Linked DNA regions of Homo sapiens: region 1 is linked to region 2. Evidence: promoter capture Hi-C in 16 types of primary human blood cells and fetal thymus (Javierre and others, 2016). All regions are on one chromosome and are shown on one strand. The core of a region is centred on a gene start or on the middle of the fragment in contact, and the rest is flanking DNA. Distances in the headings are between cores, read along the strand shown.

Region 1 (7,134 bases), core at 4,611-7,110, 770 kb before region 2:
ATGTGGCAATGAAGTGCCTGGCACATAGCAGGTGCTCCACAAAAATTACTGATCATTCTTATTTTTACTTACATTCAGGGTAAGTTCATATCAGAATTGACTTGCGCTGCCTGAGTACAGAGACTGGAGCACACAGTTGCAGGTACAAACCCACAAAGCCTCAGGAGAACTTGCCTCCATTGAAAGCCAAGCTCTGAGTCCCAGGGAGCATATGATGGAAGGCTTATGTAGCTTGGATGGGGGCACTAGGGCCCTGGGCATTTCACATTCTGAAGAATGAAGGACTTAAATTCAGAGTAAGCAACCCACACTTCAGACTTAAATGAAAAGCTTATTTTAACAAGTCTCTAAGGCACAGACAGGAACTTTCAAGAATACTTAGAGCCCCTTCTCAGCTCCCACAGGACCCTTTTCAAACAAAGTGTCTCAGGGCATCCATCGTTCATGGTTCATTTGGATGATGCCAACACTTTTCTAAAGACATACCAATTAAAATAGGAAAAAACCCAAAGATACTACAGGTCACTCATATTCATCTTCCATTTTGCTTTTGTAAGCATATTGTGGGGATACAACAGCTGTACTTGTACCTCACAGTTACTGGTACCAAATGGGAAGAGCATATCCCCTAACAGGCCATGGGCTGAGGTCAGGTCTGGAGGGAAGCGGGTTCATGTGGAATGAAAACAGATCTGGGACAGATCTGTTCTGGAGGCAGCAATTACATCAATACCAGGAGATAAACAGGGTGGTCTGAGCAGAACAGAAAGTAAGACTGTGAGTCTAGGGTCGGGGCTGGTGTCTGAACCAATCTTACCCCACGCTGACCCTCCTCTGCACTCCAGAGCCAGCCACCCAATGAGGAAGAGCTCCACACATCCCAGCTGTGCCCACAGCAGAAGGCCAGAGTCTGTCACATCCCCCTGCCCCTTTCTTCCTAACTTTTTGACTTTGTCTTCCAGTCCTGAACCACAAGCCATTTCCTCATCCTAAACATTCCTTTGCTGCTGGTAGCACTGAGGCTCAGACCTCAGTGTGGAGTCAGCCTGGCCAACTTGCCTGATGCCCCTACCATCTCTCCTCCCCACAGGAAGAGAAATGGGATGCAATCCATGATCAGAGAGGGAAAGGAATAGAAACAGGTGGAAACAGCAACAATAATAAAACAATAATTATTTATTTTTTATGTGCTAAGCATCTTGCTAACCTTGCAAATTGCCTAATAGACAGCATCTGATTTAATCCTTACAACACATTTGCAAGGTGGATATATACGTTTTAATCCTCAGAAACACATTTATTTGGCCAAATTAGTTTCACAGTTAGTTAACTGGCTGAGCTAGAGTTTAGACCTCAGTCTGATTCTAGAGGCCACACCCGTTGCCACCATGAACCCAGGCAGATGGGGCCTGAAAGTGCACACTGTGGCCCAGGAGAACCAGGCCCACCCCTCCTACTTCTGCTGCTCTTAAGGGCATGTCCTAGCCTACTTTCAGTTCTGCATATCACAGCCACACGTGGAAGAATATCAGACCATGTTCACAACACTGAAAGTTACTGCTGTTCTGACGACCGGTTTGATGAAGCCGGGAAGGCACAGGCTCCTTGGGCTGAAGAAAAACTGTCTGCTACTAAACAGGGGAAAACCCAGTGCCACTAATTGCAAATGCAGTGATACGCAGCCACACACACAGTGTGCATTCCCCCATTCAACAGCTTGTTTCTTACAGAAAGCTTTGGAAATAGCTATCACGCTGTCCACTGCAGATGAGGAAGCTGTGGCTCAGAGGAGTCAGGTCATTTGCTGACCACACAGGAACCACGATTCCAACGCATGTGTATCTGACTCCAAACTCACATTCTTTCCACTTTCCCTGACTGTCCTTCTTCTCCATCCTTCTCTCCTCCCTCCCCCATGTTGCTCATTTTGCAGTGAGAGCACAGCTGACCCTGGTTGGTGGCTTTCTCCAAGGAGCCCTTGCTTTGAGGCACAGGATCACTGGGGTTCCCTCTGGGAGAGCAGTGTCTGGAATCTTGCGTGGAGACCCCGGTGAGCACTATTTGGCCCCATTATTTGCTTTTTCTCTTTCCCAGTTGCCATGCACAAAAAATATCCATCCTGACAGCTTCTACCTCTGAAGGTAACTTTTTCATGCCTGGGTGAGTGTTCTGGTGATGAGTAGCAAGAAATGAGCCATTTTATGAGGTGATAACGGGGCTGTAAGCATCTTTAAAACCAATTGTGCCCAACAGTAGCCTCCCCTCATTTCAACAGCCTCTGGGCTTCTCAGGTCATAAATAAAACAGCTCATATTTGGTGGCACTTTGCAGTTTGCCCATGGTCTGCACTGCTGCTCTCTGAGGAAGGCAGGAGGGTGTCCCCATTTCTCAGGTGAGGCAACTGAGACTCACCTCTCCTCTGACAGCAGACTCACTGCTCCCGTCAAGGTCACCAGTGACCTCTCCGTGCCAAAGCCAAAGTCAGTGCCCAGCTCTCAGCTCTTGTGACCCCTCAGCAGTATTTGACACAGCTGGTCACTCACTCCCTCTGCCTTGAAAAGCTTTCTCCTTGGCTCTGGGACTTGCTGCCTCTGATTTTCTTTCCACTTCATCAACTCTTCCTTCTCAGTCTCCCTCGCTGACTCCTATTCACTTTCCTCTAAAGCTTGAAGTGCCCCAGGGCTCAAGCCTTTGGTCTTCTCTTTTATCCACACTCCCTTGGTGATTTCATTTAGTCCCCTGCCTTAAAAAGCCAACTGTGTATATGCTGATGATTCCTAAGCTGTAATCTTCTATTGCAAACTAGCCTCTGACTCTAGACTTGCATATCAGCCACTCAACATTTTCATCTGGGTATCTAAGTGGCATCTCAAACTCAACAACGTGCCTGAAACCAAACTCCTGATCTTCCCCTCCCTAAGCCCAGCCTCCTTCATTCTTCCCATCCCATTACATGGCAATGCCGTACTTTCAGTTCCATCCACCCTGGATGCCTCTTTCTCTCCCACCCTGCAACTGATCCATCGGCACACCCTGTCAACTCCACTTCCAAAATATCTTCATGATCCAACCACTTTCCGTCTCCTGCCTGCCTCCATCCTGATCCAAGCCACCATCATCGCTCAGCTAGATGAGTGCAGTTGCTTCCTAGCAGGTCTCTCTACCTCCCCTCCCTTCCTCCAGACTCTTGTTCGTGCAGCAGTCATATCATGCCATTCCTCTGGCCAAAATCCTCCAGTGGCTTTGCATCTCACAGCAGACAGGACCTTGCTCTGGTCCCCCACACCCTCCATGGTCTGCCTGTCCTCCTGAGCCTCATCTCTTACTACTCTTCCACAACCTGGGTTTCGGCATCCTGGACTTCTTATGTATCTTTAAACATGCCAGGCACACCTTGCACTTGCTGTTCCCTGTGCCTGGAATGCTGTTCTCCCAGATACCAGAGCACTCTCTCCTTTGTTTCCTCCAGGTCTTTGCTCAAATGTCAACTTCTCAGTGAGGACTTTGATGTCCATGGCAGGTCCCTGCCCCCTTTTTGACTCAGCATCCCTATTCCTTTATCCCACTATCTTTTCTTCATAACATTTGCCATTGTCCAGTTGACTGTGCATTTTGCTTACTTTTTTTTTTTTTTTTTTTTTTTTTTTTTGAGGCAGGGTCTTTCTCTGTTGCCTAGGCTGGAGTACAGGGGCATAATCATGGCTCACTGTAGAATGACCTCCTGGGCTCAAGCCATCCTTCTACCCTCAGCATACCAAATAGCTGGGACTACAGGTGCCTACCACCATGCCCAGTTAGTTTTAAAATTAGTTGTAGAGATGGGGTCTTGCTTTGTTGCTCAGGCTGGCCTCACACTCCTGGGCTCAAGCCATCTGCTTGCCTCAGCCTCCCAAAGTGTTGGGATTACAGGCGTGAGCCACCATGTCCTGCCTTATTTACTTTTTATTGTCTATCTCCCCCTGCTAGAATGGAAGCTCCAAGAGGGCGAGGGTGTTTGTCTGTTTTGCTCACTGCTGTACTATCAGTGTTTAGATCTGTGTTGGGAACACGCTTAACTAATACTTGTTGGGTGAATGAGAGGCTGTGATGAGGAAGGGGCTGGTGTCCTCCGAGGCCCAGTCCGTGGGCACTCCCTGGACCTAGGATGGAGCCAGCGCAGTGTGAAGTGACACTCATCGACCTGGGTGTCAGCTGGAGGCGCTGGAGGAGCAGTGAGAGTCCCAGCATAGAGCCGTGCCAGCACTGCCAGGTAGAGGAGGGGAAGGGACAGCATACAGTGACCACTTTGGGAACCGTGGTCAGAGCTCACAGGTTCTGAACCTGGCTCAGGTGGGCTGGCTGGCCGTTCATAAGTGCTCATTCTATGCCCCGTTCCCCGGGAAGCAGCCACCATCACAAGCTGCTGTCTGATCAACTATTTTAGAGCAAGAGAAAGTATCTGAAGCCCATTAGCAGATCCACTAGAAGATGATGCGTTTGCACAGAAGCATTTCAAATTCAATTTCTTTTTATTTCTTTTCAAACACAGCTTGTAATTTCGATGGGAAAATTGCATAATGTCCGTAGATAATGATTTTCCCCTGAGATGGTTTTGTGGAAGCAGCTTGGCATTTCTGAAGCCAGAGAGGAAGGGACCATCAGAGCTGTTCCGGGCCTGCCCCACTGCCCCTCCGCCCAAGGGCTGCCTCCGGTGGGTGGGAGCTCTGAGGACTCACATCACCCTATGACCTTCTGTGTGCTGGCACTGGCCATCGGCATTTACTTAGCTTGTCCTTTGGTAACTGAAGTACCATCCTGGATTTAACCTCATTTTCTGCATTTTTATTATGTTCTTTTTAGTGCTCACACAAGTCTGCTGCTCCCCTGAGTAAAATCAGTGAGCAAAGGAGCAGAAGAGGCTGATGGGGCATGCCTGCCTCCCATCCCACCAGCCCCCAGGACCTGCTCTTCCGTGGTCCGCCTCCCCATCTTCTACCTGACCTTCAGCAGTCAGAAAAACCTTAGTGCCAAGGCCAGAGCAAAGAAGGGAAAAGGGGGCCACAGCAGAAGGTATTCGAACATCACGTAGGTGATGCCAAATCCAAACAGGAGAGAACATCAAGCAAGGGCTGTCTGCCTTCAAACAGAAAGGGCTGTGAGGAAGCCCAGCCCATGATCCAGGCCAGATCTGACTGGAGGTGCCTCAACCTGTAAGGGTAGTGCCCCTTTCAGCACCCCTAACCCTACCCCATGGGAACACATCCTGTAGTCTTCAAGAAACAGCACTGGGGGTCGGGTGCTTTGGCTCACACTGTAATCCCAGCACTTTGGGAGGCCAAGGTTGATGGATCACCTGAGGTCAGGAGTTTGAGACCAGCCTGGCCAACATGGTGAAACCCCATCTCTAAAAGTACAAAAATTAGCTGGGCATGGTGGCGGGCACCTGTAATCCCAGCTACTTGGGAGGCTGAGGCAGGGGAATTGCTTGAACTCAGGAGGCAGAGGTCGCAGTGAGCTGAGATTGTACCATTGCACTCCAGACTGGGCGACGAGGGCAGAACTCCATCTCAAAAAAAAAAAAAAAAAAAAAGAAAAAGAAACAGTGTTGGACACTCCTCAACCATGATTCCCATCCCCACTGCCATCCCAGGGCAGGTCCCGTCCCAGAAGCCAGCATTAGAGCAGGGGCCGCATTGCATCCCTTCTATATCCTCAGCACCAGCCTGGCTTGTGAGAGGTATGCAGGGAATATTTAAGGGATAAATAATGAATTAGTTAATTAAACAATTAGTTAATAATAAGCTAGAGGAAGTCTCTGGCCTTGGCTGCCCTCCCAGAGGGTTTAGGGGCTGTTGTTCAGAGTGTGATGGGACTGGAACATGGCTGAGGGGTTTGTGAGCAGAAGAGTGGTATGACCTGATTCATATTTTTAAAGGATCCTGCTGGCTGCTCAGGGAAAGTAACTGGAGTGGGGCAAGCTGGGGAGCAAGGACCCCAGGCAGGAGGCCATTGCTGTGTCTGGCGACATAGGGCCAGGGAAGAGCAATGGAAGGGGTTCAAGGCATGGGATGCAGATATATTTTACAGGTCGGCTCAGCGTTATCTGCTGATGGATTGGATGTGAGGTATAAAACAAAGAGGGGTCAAGGATGACTCCAAAAGGAGGTGTCATGTAGGAAGGTAGATATATGAGGCCGGAGCTCAACGGAGAAGTCCAGGCTGGAGACGTAAACTCCAAGTCATCAGCATAGAGACTGGTAGTTAAAACCACAGGATAGATTACCTGGGGAGTGAATGGAGGCAGAGGAGAGGATGGGGGAGAGCAAAGCAGACTAAGGTATAATGGCCAGAGAGATAGGAGGACACCAGGACCTGCCCAGGGCCTCTTCAGAAACCCTGTGCTTACCCCACTACCTCTGCGGCCTCTGTTTACTGCTGCCCTACTGCCCCCCCTGCCATGTGCTCACTGCTGCCGCCGCTGCCCCACTGGCCACTACTGAAAATACAATGGAAGCAGGTTCAGGAAAGACAGAGGTGAATTAGCGGAACCAGCAAGCCCAGACAGCGCTTTTTGAGAAGTCGGCTGTGGAGTTGAGAAAAATGGCAGTAGCAGGAAGGACATGTGATTATTTTTTGAAAGATGTGTGATATGAGGGCAAGTTTGTATGTCCAAGTGTATAATCCAATATAGAAGATAAGCTCATATTGCAGGAGAGAGGGAGGGTGCACTTGCAGGAATGGATCCCTAAGGTGAGATCCAGACCTGGGAGGGAGGAGTGGTCTTCCAGAGTTGCCAGAGTGGGGAGGGAAAAGGGAAGCAGAGGACAGAGCTGCAGATGCTCTGGTTACTGGTTATCTGCAGGTGCTCTGGTTAGTGGTTACAGGCATGAGCCAGAGAGCATGTGGGTTGGGTTGCTGGGGCTGATGGTGAGGACTCATTCATCCAGCAATGATAGATGGAGCCCCTAGTCTGTGCCAGGCCTATTCCACGTGCTGGAGAATGAGCCCTGAACAGAAGACACACCCATCCTTGTCCTCAAGGAGCTTACATTCCGGAGGAGGAGGCAGACATAACAGCTACACAGTGTGTCCAGTGCTGATTAGCTCTCCGGGGAAAATATAGCCGGGAAGGGTGAGGGGGAGGGCCAGGATGGG
Region 2 (6,648 bases), core at 1,702-4,201:
TGTATTTGCTGAATAGGGATCGAGTTATTTTTGCGTGTATGTGATTTTCCTGTTCCTGCCATTAGATGGCAGTGCTCAAACTTAGTAGTACAAAGAAATTCCAGGTTTTAAAAATTAAATAGGATTCTGGGTCTGTGGTCTTATCTGCTTTGAAACAATATTGCCTTAGCATGCTATAACACAAACTACCAAACGACCTTGTTTGTTCACTGCTACTATATGAAACTTCTCTTTCTGTATGGACCTCTTTGGTGTGTGGAAGAAAGACTTTCATTAAAGTTCTGAACCTTAGCCTATGCAGTCAGCTAGCATTTACAAATTATCGTGTAGAGCAGATTTGTGATTATCTAAATCTATGGCATTACCTACCAAATGTATAACTGTTACCAGTGCTACTGTGCTACTACCTTAATATTTGAAAGGTTAATTATCTCTTTTTTTTTTTTTGAAACGGAGTCTCGCTCTGTCGCCCAGGCTGGAGTGCAGTGGCACAAGCTCTGCTCACTGCAAGCTCCGCTTCCCGGATTCACACCATTCTCCTGCCTCAGCCTCCCAAGTAGCTGGGACCACAAGCGCCTGCCACCACCCCCGGGTAATTTTCTGTATTTTTAGTAGAGACGGGGTTTCACCATGTTAGCCAGGATGGTCTGGATCTCCTGACCCCGTGATCTGCCCGCCTCGACCTTTCAAAATGCTGGGATTACAGGCGCGAGCCTCCGAACCCGGCCGATTAATTTTCTTTTAAAGCAAAGAACAGTAGAAACTTTATTCGATTTTCTATTTTCTCCCAACTCCCATTCTCTTTTGTTTTTGAAGAACAGCAGAATGAAATGAGCTCCAGGACCCATCCAAGTAGGATATGATGGTTTGAACAGATTCCAGCATGGAACAAAGTTTCCATATTTTGCCTGAAGTCTTTCATTCATATGATTCTTCTAATGCTTCCTGGAAAATTCCAAGAACTTGATGTGAAATTATGCTTAACAGAACACCCAATTGGCCTATGGCAGGTGCATTAGTCCATTCTTGCACTGCTATAAAACAAAGAGGTTTAACTGGCTCACGGCTCCGCAGGCTGTACAGGAAGTCCGACGGCTTCTGCTGGGCTTCTGGGGAGGCCTCAGGAAGCTTACAATCATGGCAGAAAGCCAAGGTACAGCAGGCACGTCTTATATGGTGGGAGGAGTGGGGCGGGGGTGGGGGGGCGCCACACACTTTTAAAGAACAGATTTCACCAGAACTCACTATCACCAGAATGGCAAAAACAGGGAAATCTGCCCCCATGATCCAACGACCTCCAACACTGGGGATTACAATTCCACATGAGAGGTCAGGTGGGGACATAGATCCAAACCGTATCAGCAGGGTTAGAATAACTTTTTTGTTTTCCTCCTAAGTGTTGGGCTTATTCGTAGGGAGAGTATGGTAAGCCAAATAAAACTATAGTATACATAGTATTTTTCATATAGTATACATATTTTTATATGTAATATGAAAATAATGTGTCCAAAGGAAGGTGAGTGGAAACTACAGCAAAATACCAGAGTCTTTCTTTAGAAAAGGACAGCTTCTATTTTGATGTAAGAGTATGGCTCCTCATTAGCCCTAACTTGGACTACAGAATGACTTCTTCTGAGCAGAGCTTATAGGAGAAAATTTTGATAATAAATCAGGACTGATGACGTTTTTGTTTTTTGCCTGAGAATTTTCTCAGAGTTTCTCTGAGAAACTGTATCACAAAATTCCTATTAGATTGCTCTTATGTAGACAACTTGAAATTATTGGCAATTTCCAATTTAGCAAAATGTTGGCTATAATAACTTAGTGAATTACGACAATAACCCGTTTCTCTTAGGTTTCTGATATTTAAGTGTCCTTACAGGAGAAAGATGAAGTTATCTTATAATTGTCCAGCTCAACTGCTCATCTTCTTAGCATAAACACTGATTTGGAAAATACTTTGCGTATCACACGTAGGAGCCTGGGAATGTTCTCATCCGAACTAAACAGTGGTTAAAGGTTTTTCAACAAAGTTCTTGCTGCAATATCTGTTTTCATACCCAATTACTCAAACCAGGTCCTCTTCCTCTTTGCTTCCTCTCCTTGCAATGCCCTTCCCTCTCTTCCCTAAACTGGAGAACTTACTTATGCTTAAGATTCAGCGCAATTGTCACTCCCAGGTGAAGGCTTTCTCAACAAGGCCTCCCCGTCTGCTCCCAGAGCTCATGGCAAGCAGCTCGGCTTTTATCAGAGAATAATGGGATTATCTATTTTCCTGTAGGTCTTGCCCCGGGGGTGTAAGCTTCGAAGGCGGAGACTGTGTCTTTTACATTTTTTCCCGTTTTTATTGCCCAGCCAGCCCATGTAGGTGACTCTCGGTGTTTCCTAGGCGGCCAAACTGAAGGAGTTTCAGCTGGCACAGGGGTTCCCGCCAACCGAGCGTTTAAAAATAAGCAGCGGGGGACGTTAGGGAACAGAGGGTGTCCCTCACGACGACCGACTCTCATCAGGTCCACGCCGGCAGAAGCGATTTTGCAGTTTGCTTTGATGAGGAAAACGCTCTCCCTGAAGAGTCCCTGCACTATTTCTCCAACTCTGTGACCGAGACGCTGTCCACTTTTCTCTAACGGTGACAGGAAGTCAAGGGGAAAACGTGGGATTCAAAGGTTTGAAGGTAACAGCCCTCAGCCACTCGGGCTCGAGGCCCGCGGTTGACCCGAGCTGATGTCTGTGAGGAGAGGTCGCGCGGCGCCTTCCTCTCCACGCGCCTGAGATCCCACCCGTGGCCGCCGCGCCCTCAACTGCCTTCTCCTTCGGTGCCCCGCCCACCCCTGGGCGGAGAGCACCGTTCTCGCGAGAACGCTGCTGGCCTCGCCTCTTCGCATTGTGAGCTCTCGCGGTAAGAGGCTGAGGAGCCGGCCTGCAACCTGCCGGGGCGGCTCCGCTACGCGCAGCCGCCTCAGTGGCTTCCTCCACAGCCACCTCCGGAGGGATCTGGCTGAGGAGGAAGTGGAGGTGTCACTGGCCCCGGCCTTTGCCCCAATCTTGTGTGGGCACTGAAGGGGGACTACAGGTTCGAGAGTGAGTGGACTCAGCTGGGGAACTCGGCGGGGGCGGCGCGGGAGGCTGGGCTTGGCCGGGGCGAAAGAGGAAAGGGGCGGAGGGCGAATCTGGGCGTGAGAGCCAGGCTGCTGCGGCGGTGGTCTGGGCGGCCGGACCCTGCTCGGGTACCGTGGGTGGCGTTTTGGGCTCCGGCCACGAGCACCCAATTAGGAGAGGCCGGGATAAGACTTGAGTTTTGCGGCTGCTGCTTTTGGGTTGGGAGTCCGGGGGCCTTTCTCCGGGGATGAAGGCGATACCCTCATCCCTTTCCAGGGCAGAGGAACCCCGTGCCCCGCCCCTTTCCTGTCATCTCAGACGAACGCAGCGACATCCTGAGGAAGGCGCATCACAATAGGGGATAAGGTGGTGGGCAGCCTCCCTCTGGGTGAAGAGGAGTGAGACCCCACTAACGTGCTGCGTGGTTTTATGTTGTAACCATTTTACGTGTGGTAAAGCTTTGTTTTCTTAAAACTTGCACGGAAAAGGTTCTGATGTCTTTCTTCTTCAGATGCAGGTGCCCTGACACCCTTATCTTTGGGAATGGGGCGGGGGAAGGTGAGACATCGGTTAGTAATTTGTTAGTGTGGGCCAGTGTGACTGTCCCTGGGCCTCACAGATTTCCTGCTTCTCCTTTCTCAGTATTCTGAGTCCATGATGAAAAGTCACTAGTCCAGACATGCTGAAAGATAGAGCTTCACTTGCTTGTGGCTTTGTGCACTTAGTAAACAAGATTATTTTACGAAGATTTATTATCTTGCAGAGTTTTCATGCTTTTTATTTAAATTAGCAATCTAAATGAAACAGCACAGGATATTAATTGTATTTGGACAACTGAGTTCCTTCCCGCCCCTATCCTCCCAACCCCCCAACTACACAAATTTGATCAAAATCTTTTAGAGAGGGGGTTAGGGATAAATTTTCAATGAAAGAGACTGTGGAAATCGGAATAAGAGATATAATAAAGAATGCAGCCATAACGGCCAAAAGAGTTTCTGTATTAGAGAGCCTGTCCAGGATTGAAGTTCAGTCCTGAAACCCAGGACTGCAGTTGTCATTTGAATATAAAGCGGAAAGCAGTAGAAAATACTTGGGAAGGGATTTGAAAGTGGACCAAGACTGGTAAAAAAAAAAAAAAAAAAAGTGTGAGAAGAATTATTTCTGATGATGTAAATGTGTTTTATAAATTTTCCCAATATTTCTCAGCGTGTATGACCTAACAGCTATTATATTAATACATACAAAGTAGGAAGGAAGTTTCTGAAGCATGGAATGTGGTAAGGAACCACCAGAGAGTAACAGTGTTCAATCAGGAAAGCTTTTAGTGTTTCAACAATGTTTTTGTGTTCGTTCACCTTTTTTCTCACTCCCAGAAAAGCTTTCAGATAGACTTCTAACCCTATGTAATTATGTTACCCTTCCACCAGTCTGAATTTTCTTCTTTCTCACTCCCTCTAAGCCATGTGAATTTTTTAAATTATTAACTATGGAGTTGCAAACCACTGTGGTCTGCTTTTGGCTTTTTATAATAGGTGACTTAGGGAAGTATGGAAGTGATATGGAAAATATTGTGCACCTTTCAAAGCCATAGCATGAGCAACAAACTCACATGCCTTCGGGTACTAGTTAGATAATGAAAATGAGGGAAATGCACTATGCCTTATCAGAGAGACATCCAAGTCTCAGGTCCCCCTAATCAGTGCTATATAAGAATATGGACCCCATCTTCAGCATTCTCAAGAGAACTCGGAAATCTAGATTTTTGCATTCAGTGTCTTGCGTCTTAAAAATATTGACAACTAATTAAAACCATTAAAAATATCATGTGACTGAATCAAATCCAAACCTGTCCATAGTTGTATTCTCCTCTCCAGTTTAGAAGCTCTGTTATAAATCAAAATTAATAAATTTTATGACTGGAAAAAAAGGAGGTTTAAAGCAAGTTTGGAGTTTCAAACTTAAGGGGTCTTGGGAAAAATGTCACATCTAATTGAAAACAGTAGTTAAGTTTAATAGCCTTTAAGTATAGTTATAGTAGGGCAATTTGAACTGGTATTTACTATAAACGTTTTAACTGTGGAAATAACTGAAGAAAAAGCATCTCAGTATTTATGGTTTAAAAACTCAGAGTTCTGAGCAAAGCTGATTTATAGGTATCTTGTACAGAAATTGAATTATTTAGAAGCTCTTTATTGTATTTGCAGCTAATATATAAAATTAAATACAAGAGACCCTCTACAGTCCATTTCAGGATTTGAATGTTTATTGTTTGCTGTGCTATCCCACATTGTCTTCCTAGGCATTGACTTACTGGAAGAAATACTGATCCCTTGGATTTTATTCCATGCCAGATGGAGATTGGAGGGGTTTGGCAACAGGATGGAAAGAACTGGGTGGAGAAAGTGTGATGTGAAGCAAACACTCTTGTGCCCCTTCCTTACATTGTTCATTAAAAGATTGATTTGTGTTAGTTTTTCTTGTAAGAAGGATAGGTATATTAATTGATTAAACTTAGTGCCTTATACATAGTAGAGTTTAATGACGTGTGGAATTGACCTTTGTGGATTAAGCCTCATTTACCCATTAATGTGAAGTAATTTAATCACATAATCTGATTCATACCTAGTTGGGTTATGGGGAATGGGAGTGCTAGAGGTCAAAGCTAAGTAAGAGGTGTTTTTTAGGCATATAGAGGGCAAGTTGGGGGTCTTCACTTGGGATAAGGGTGAGAGAGGAAGTTAGGTAAGGGAGAGAATTTTGAAAAGGAAGATGAAATGATTAAGTACCCATTTGTGTATTGTGCAGTTTTAAAAAGAGGTCTGCCTTTTGTGGCTAAATTTATCATAACTTGTGCAGAGACTACATAGAATACTGGTTTTTAATCAGGACTGCTATGGGAATTTGCAGATTTTCTTTTCTTCATTTTAGCTCAGTCATCTCAGGCCAAGCTAGGCTAATATCTGTTCATTCAATCTCTGCCTCTCTCTGAAATAGGAAATGAAAGAAGAGGAGATATGTATTATGTTTGTGAGGTGCTCCTGTTGAAGAGTTATAAGACTACTTCTGAGGAATTTGTTTTATATTTGAGAAGATTGTGCTTGTTGAAGGGGGAACCATTATTTTCGTCTTTACTTGTTTCTACCATGACTCATAAAGTAGGAAGTTCTTTTTTGGAAATAGCTTTCCGCTTCTTCCCATCCCCTGAGTTGCCATCCCAAAGGAGGATCAGGGGAGGCTAAGGGAAGGGATTGAGTATACTTTTGTTCAGTGCCTTATGATTCAATTTTTGGGACTCTCAATTCTTAGGCTATACATTGTCTATTCATTTGTATGGTAGGCTTATCTGAGCAGGCTGGACTACTAATACTATGAGGGAGAAGGAAATGGAATGCCTACAGTTCTAACTGGGTAAGTTTAATTTGCAGTTGAAGTAATAAGGGTTTTTGCACGTTGGATTTAGTTATATTTTTACCATCATCTGTTTGGATCCTTTATTTTTTGTTGATTCTGAACCGAAAGTAAGGCGGGTCAGGAAGATACAGATGTTAC

What was found. The method cuts DNA at HindIII sites, captures the fragments that hold promoters and counts their contacts. A CHiCAGO score of 5 or more calls a contact.
Region 1: a contact is called between a fragment that was not itself captured here and the fragment with the promoter of BTBD10 in region 2, in 1 of 17 cell types (total B cells). The highest score is 5.1, in total B cells.

Annotation. Positions count from the first base shown.
Region 1 is chr11:14,232,194-14,239,327 of GRCh38, reverse strand. The region is part of intron 6 of SPON1 (spondin 1); the gene reads right to left. Among named protein-coding and RNA genes, the nearest start is that of RRAS2, 120 kb to the left of the region's middle. RefSeq lists an enhancer at 1,708-1,757. The HindIII fragment of the contact is 6,386 bases long and covers 2,668-7,134 here.
Region 2 is chr11:13,459,525-13,466,172 of GRCh38, reverse strand. BTBD10 (BTB domain containing 10) reads left to right here and starts at 2,951. Exons shown (of 9, transcript NM_032320.7): 1 at 2,951-3,081. RefSeq lists an enhancer at 2,582-2,771. The HindIII fragment of the contact is 1,255 bases long and covers 2,305-3,559 here.